2 separate regions of the Homo sapiens genome follow, and region 1 is linked to region 2. Evidence: promoter capture Hi-C in 16 types of primary human blood cells and fetal thymus (Javierre and others, 2016). All regions are on one chromosome and are shown on one strand. Each heading gives the region's core, a stretch centred on a gene start or on the middle of the fragment in contact. The rest is flanking DNA. Distances are from core to core; before and after follow the strand shown.

The links. The method cuts DNA at HindIII sites, captures the fragments that hold promoters and counts their contacts. A CHiCAGO score of 5 or more calls a contact.
Region 1: a fragment that was not itself captured here is called in contact with the fragment with the promoter of CAMSAP1 in region 2 in 8 of 17 cell types (neutrophils, naive CD4 T cells, non-activated CD4 T cells and 5 more); the score reaches 9.2 in neutrophils.

The regions. Positions count from the first base shown.
Region 1 is chr9:136,240,148-136,243,661 of GRCh38, forward strand. All of the region lies in intron 1 of QSOX2 (quiescin sulfhydryl oxidase 2), which reads right to left. Among named protein-coding and RNA genes, the nearest start is that of QSOX2, 3.9 kb to the right of the region's middle. The HindIII fragment of the contact is 3,219 bases long and covers 96-3,314 here.
Region 2 is chr9:135,906,022-135,909,115 of GRCh38, forward strand. CAMSAP1 (calmodulin regulated spectrin associated protein 1) reads right to left here and starts at 1,525. Exons shown (of 17, transcript NM_015447.4): 1 at 979-1,525. The coding sequence starts at 1,138. CAMSAP1-DT (CAMSAP1 divergent transcript) reads left to right here and starts at 1,812. Exons shown (of 2, transcript XR_007061860.1): 1 at 1,812-2,898. RefSeq lists an enhancer at 1-17 and silencers at 664-713, 1,114-1,183, 1,264-1,373, 1,414-2,093. The HindIII fragment of the contact is 15,122 bases long and covers 1-3,094 here.

The sequences.
Region 1 (3,514 bases), core at 455-2,954, 330 kb after region 2:
GGAGGCAGAAATGAGACCGCAGGCCTATTCTCACTTCTGCTCAAGAGCCTGGCTATTTTAGGACTCCAGTCTTAAAAATACTTGGGAAATAATTAAGCTTCTATATATAGTAGATTAACATTTATTTCAAATGTGCTTGTCAAATAACTCTAATACTGAATCTAACAAGGTTAACTCTTTACTGCTTGTCACGTTCTAATGAAAAAGTCTACAGAAGTCTAATGTATAGTCCAGTATCAAATCGTTCTAGAAAATGATTACAGTAAAGATAAAACAATCTCCCAAGTTGAAAGGCAACTAGGGAGCTGTGTTTAAGGGACAGAGGTCCACTGCAGCCTCTCCTTCCTGAGTCAGGGCCATGCTGGGGTCTCGAACTCCGCATACCAGTCCCTGGAGAAGACCCTCTCTGGGTGGAGCCCCCTCTTGGCTGAGCAAAGGTCTTCTTAGCTAAGCTCCAAGTTCAAGGCACAAGTTTGGAATAACAGGCCTGGGTAGAAATGAAACCCACCTAGCGACCAGGAGAGCCTAACACAAATCACCTAGAAGTTGCCAAGGGCTGGTCTGAGAAAACCCGGGCACACGCTACGGTCGCCTCATCTGGGGACTGAGGGCAGGGCTGGGTCCCATGGACTCTTGATCCCCAGCATTTAACTCAATTCTGGTAAACCAAAACTACACGTTCTTCAGCCTCGAAGGGTGCTCCGAGGTGACAGCAATTCCAATGCTGTTTATCTGTTGGTAGGGAATGACAGTCCCTCAGCCCGTCCTCTGTCAGGGAAGCCCAAGCAGTGCTTATGACCTGGGTCACCCCATGGCACGACGACCGGCATGACACAGCGGAGACGGCTCCCTGGACGTGGCTGTAAGGCCCTCTTAGCAAACCATCCCGTCTTACTTCAACAACAAGTAAGTGGCCTGGGTCTCTCGGTGTAGTCTCAGACGCACCAACCACAGCCACTGGGGAGGCCAGCGGGGAGCCCGGCTGCTCCGATGCACCATCCTTTCTGTAAAATACTCATGTGGTCGCCACAGCGGGGCTACATTAAGCCATTTCTGGGCCCGTAAGGAGACAGGAGGCCTCCACTGCCCAACTCTTCCTCCTTCCACCCTCTCCATCCTCCCGAGTCCAGTGAGCACCTGGCAGCTCTCACGGGCCGTCAGCCCCGCCAAATGCCCGCTGACACCTGCATGTCCCCCTCCCTCTGGCCCTTATTGTTTCTTTTTCCAGTAAACGGACAATGAGCCTGTGGGGAACACCAAGTTCTAATTCATCTCCAAGAAGCCTGCAGCCTAGTCGAGTAGACAAGAAACCAGACCAAGTGGGACAGAGGAGCTGGCAGCAATCACAGAATGCCCTACCCTTCCTTCAAGAGATGTCGGATGTGTCCAGCTCCCAACCCCCACCTGTCCTCTACAAAGACACAGGAATGAACTGCCATGGCTCCAGGTCACCCACACCTGGACACCCATCCCGGCCTGTCACTCAGCTGCGTGACCGTGACTATCCCACGCAACCTCACGTGCTATCACCTGCAACATGAGCGCCCCCGCACTCCTGAGGACAGGTGTGGGAGGACTCGGCCTGTTCCACGCAACCTCATGTGCTATCATCTACAACATAAGCGTTCCCGCCCTCCTGAGGGCAGGTCTAGGAGGACTCAGCCTGTTGTGGGTGGTGGCCTGCCCTGTTTTCTCAGGCTGACCAAGTGAAGGAGATGGGAGGGAACAGGCACCAGGGCCACAGAGGGCGCACGGGGACACAGGCCCTGCCTTTAGGGTGCACCCTCTTGTCCACTCAAGACTGCAGAGGCATTTCGGAGATCTCACCGGTCAGACGGGCCAAAGTGTAGCCCCAGGCCCTGGTGCCTCATCTTCCATCACAAACCCAGCAACCATCACTGCCAGGCAGATCTTCAGGAACCCAACAAGGTTTTGTTCTGCAAAGTACTTAGAAGTGACAGGCTTAAGCCAAATCTCCACAAACACTAGAATGACACTTGGTCACACCAAACAGTACAACTTTTGTTTCTTAAGCCACCTTCTTATAAGAAAAAACATTTATTTTCCCAGCCTTGAAAAAGCCAGTCAAGAGCTAAAGTTCAATCCAAATTTCTGAGGAAAACAAAGGTGCCCTGGCCTGTCCTGCTCCTTCCAGCTGGAGGCTCCTGGGAAGCAGAGCCCACACCTAACCATCCTCTCCAGCAGCCACAGGCATGAAGAACGCAGGGCGTGGCGGGCGCTGGCCAGGGGGACCAGTGGGAGAAGGCGGCTGGACACTCTAGGTAGAAGTGGGGGCCCAAGCCATGGCCTGTGTGCCCCCAGGGGATCAGCAGGATGACCTAAGTCACAGGTGATTGATCAGGGCCACAGGTGACTGATCTGAGTCAGGTCAACAGGGACATAAGAAAACATGAGAATGTTGACAACGGGAATGCCTGCATGCAGCCAGACCCCTGCACTGCCACGGGCAATGGGCGCCCTATCCCTGTGGGACAGCTCCACGCAGGGATGACAGACAGGGAGCCAGGCGCCAAGCAGACAGTTCTGAGCTGGCAGGTCTGGGCTGGGGCTGTGGAGAAGCAGGCATTTCTAACAAGGCCCTAAGTGGCCCTACTTTGAGAGTCCCAGCCTTAGAACAGCTCCGGGGACTCCTCAGTGCCAAGGGCCTTTCATCCCTTTCTACCCGGACTCTACCTCCCACAAGCCTCATGGGCACAGCTTGGCTCTCAGGACTGTAAACCAAAAATAAAATCCTGAGTCCCCTAACTGACTGAATTGAACCCCCTCTTGGCCAAGGAGACCCCAGGGCAACCTGAGGAAAGAAATTCCAGGCCCTGACGGCAAGGGAGGTCAGACACGCCTGGTTACATCACCTCCCTTTGGAGTTTAGGCAGAGCTGACCAGCGTGATGAAACAGAGATCACAGACAGACAGCACAGCCTCAGCAGCAACGACACCAAACTCCAGCCTGACTCGGGTACAGCACCACATGACAAATAGCACACCCTGCAGGAAATCAAAATATTTCACCCCCAAATACATTTATTTCCCTGACATATTTGAAATGGTCCTGCAAAGCTGTCTTTTGTGAGGGAAATTTGCATCTGTAGAGAATCTCCCTCCCTTTCTAGGTCTTTCCTGGATCTAGGAGACATTTAACGAGTCTGACAGCATTCAGGTCTGAAAAGAGACATTTACCCTCTATTCTCCCCAAGGCTGCTGCCTGTGAGGCTTCATCTACTTAACCTTGGCCTCCACAGCCCCTTTAGCTTAACTCAAGCATTTCTCTTTGCTGACTTCAAGTCTTTAGACAAAGCTTAACTCTTTCAATCAATTGCCAGTCAGAATCCACCTATGATCTGTAAACCTACCCCTTCCTATACCTTACATGTACTGATTTATGTCTCTCTGCCTATAACTTCTGTCTCCCTAAAATGTATAAAATCAAATTAACGTGACTGCCTAGAGCACACTTTCTTAGGACCTCTTGACACTGTTCCCCTGGCCATGGCCA
Region 2 (3,094 bases), core at 275-2,774:
TACACAGTACAAAAACCAGTTTGAAATAAGGCGAGTTATTTAATCCCTAAAACTTACAAAACGCGTTTGTCCTTATGACTAACTCGAGTCTAGCTGGGGCACAGGCCACTGTCAAACAGGGCAACGCCTACTCAGCGTTTTCCAAACTGGTCAACTGAACTCTTCTCTGGAAGGGCTGTCTCCTTTAGTCTTACTCTAAAAAGGGTAATTTTTCACCAGAATAAAGGCAAATATTTTAAGAATGCTTCAAATGAAAAGAGGATTGCAGAAATATTAACCTTTAATTGTACCTGAAACAAAGCACCTGAAATTAATAAAGAAGTCAGCCACTGACGAGAATCACTAGGTCTGTCCTGTTCCCAGGGCACGAAACAGAAGCGTCTTAATCCACTAAGCACATTAGGGCCTAACAAACTGGACTGAGTAACAAGGTTACCTAGTTCTTCCAAACAGGAATTAACCAAAGGGGATCATTATGATTAAGCACAATGCGCGGAATACGCAATTTCTAGTTGGGGAATTCAACAGCTGACAGCTTGTAAGCATCAAAATTCATAACAAGTGCAAGGCTCGGAATCACAGGTCCAGCACTGGACGATGCCCGGCGCGCCGGGAAGCGGCGCCTCAGACGGCGGCCCCGCGTCCCCATGGTCCCTCCCTGCGCCCAGAACCGGGCAGCTCCTTCCCGCCGCCGCCGCCGCCAACGGGAGGCTGGGGGCACTCCCGAAATAGGAGCGGAAGCCCCGACCCACGCCGCCCTCCGCCGCAGGGACGCCCACTCGCCAGGTGACCGCGTCCCCACGCTCCGCGTTGCCCGGGCGCCGCCAGGACCTCGGAGGCGGCCGGCCCAGCCCCGACCCTGTGCGGACGCGGCACAAAGGCGCGGCGCGCGGACCCCGACCCGGCCGGACCCCGGCCGCGTCCCCCGGCCCCGGCCCGCGCCCCTGGCCCCCGCCCCGCGCCCCTCACCCGGCCCACCTCGGCCGTAGGCCTTGGCGCAGATCCACTGCAGGTTGGCGGCGATCTTGGCGCGCGCCGCGTCGTAGCGGTCCAGGGGCACGAGGTCGGCGGCGCCGTCCGGCGGGGCCTCCATCTTCCTCCAGCCCTCGGCGGCGGCGCGGCCGCTCGCGTCCACCATCTGCAGACAAAGGGCTGAGGCGGCGGCCCGGCCGCAACAAAGGCGCCGCCGCCCCTCGCCGCGCCGGGCCCGGTGCGCCCCGAGCCACCACTCGGCCCCGCAGCCGGCCAGCCGGGAGGGGCGCCCGAGCGCGGCCCCCGCCTCACCTCACAGCCGCCGCCGTCGCCGCCCCCGCGGCTGCTGCATGCTGCGGGCGCTGAGCCCGAGCGGAGGAGGTGCCGAGCCCGCGGCCCAAAGAGGCGGCGGCAGGAGGGCGCGGGCCGGGGGCGGGGGCGGGCGCGGGGGCGGGAGCGGGCCGGGGGCGGTGGCAGCGCGTGCGCGGTCCCGGGTGAGCGGCGGCGGCGGCGACAGCGGCTGAGGCGGTGGCCAAGGAGCGGGAGCGCGCTCACCGCCGGGGCCTCGCACAGGCGCAGTAGGCACCGCCCGCCACCCCGCCCTCGACCCCGCCCCCAGCTCCGCTCCCTTCTCGCGCCTGCCCCGCCCCTTTCCGCAGGCGCAGTAGGCACCGCCCGCCAGCCCGCGCCCGCCCCGCCCCTTTCCGCAGGCGCAGTAGGTGGCACCCGCAGGCCTGTGCCTGCCCCGCCCCTTTCCGCAGGCGCAGTGAGCGTCGACCCGCCCCTCCCCGCCCGCTTCCGCAGGCGCAGTAGGACCCGCCCTGGTCCGCGCCTGCCCCGTTGCTTTCCTCAGGCTCTAAGGCCCGCGGTGTGGAGCGCGGCGTAGGCAGCGGGGAGTGGGCGGCGCGGGGTGGGTGGAGTGGGTCGGCGGCGGGGATCCTGCCGAGCCCGCAGCTGCCCTCTTTTAGCGCCGTGTCTCCTCCCCGGCCCTGGCTCGTCCCACCTCAGCCACAGCCCGGCCCCCTGGCCGGCCGAGGTCTCGCCGCCGGCGCCCTGGGGACCTCGTGGGTGTGGCCGGCGGCGACCTCGGCAGGCGACAGCCCAGCAGACGGGCACCAGGTGGACGTGCCAGTCTCCAGACCCCCGTCCCGGTGCAGGGAAGGTGGGCGTTTGGACCCCTGAGGCAGAAACAGGTGCGGCCCCGCCGGCGCATCCCCCGGAAGGGACGCTGACTTCGTTCCCCTGGAGCCTGCGTCGGGGCCCGCGCTGGGCTGAGAATTACGGGAACGCCGTGAGAGTTTGCATTCCGAGGATTTGGTCTGAGAACCTCACCAGCGAAATAGAGAACTGCCCCCGGGAGAGCCGGCCCACGTGCCGCCCACCGGCGCCTTGACGGCAGGGAGAGGTCGAGCTTCCAGGGAGCGGGCGCCCGGCGCGGGGCTCCCAGCCTGTCTGTACCTGGTCGAGACACCCCGTGCCAGAGGCGGAACATGTATGAAATGCCAGGTGCCCAGAGGACCCAGGCAGTCCGTCATTCACATACCAACCCACGTGCAGGCTTCAATTCAACCTTGAAGCCATTTGGGCCTGGGCTTTTTTGATGACTTATTTGATTCATAGTTTTTTGGTTACTAATTGAGTCTCTTCACTTGTTATAGGTCTGTTGAGATTGTCTATTTTTTCTTGAGTCAGCCGTCTGAAAAGAACACGAGGTGGACAGGGCAGAGCGGTCAAGGAAAGCCATAGGAGGAGGGCACTTATTTGAGCAAAGACCGGCGGGACGTGGGCGTCGAGGGTAAGGATATCTGCAGAAGTACTGTCTTGAGCAAGGAGCACGGCAGACAGAGCCTCTGAGACACGAGAGCCTGGAGTGTAAGAAACACAGTAGAGGCCACTAAGTCGAGAACGCAGGAGCTGGAAGGACTGGTAGGAAATGGGAGGTGGGGACATGGAGGGATGCAGACAGGTCCTGCACAGTCAGAACTGTGGCCCCTTCTCTGCAGGAAATGGGCAGCCTTCGGAAGACTGAGCACACGGAAGGATATGACTAACCCTTTAAAAGGGTCATTCTGACTCCTGGGTGAAGAACAGACTAGGAAGGGCTGAGGAGGAGGCAGGAGGC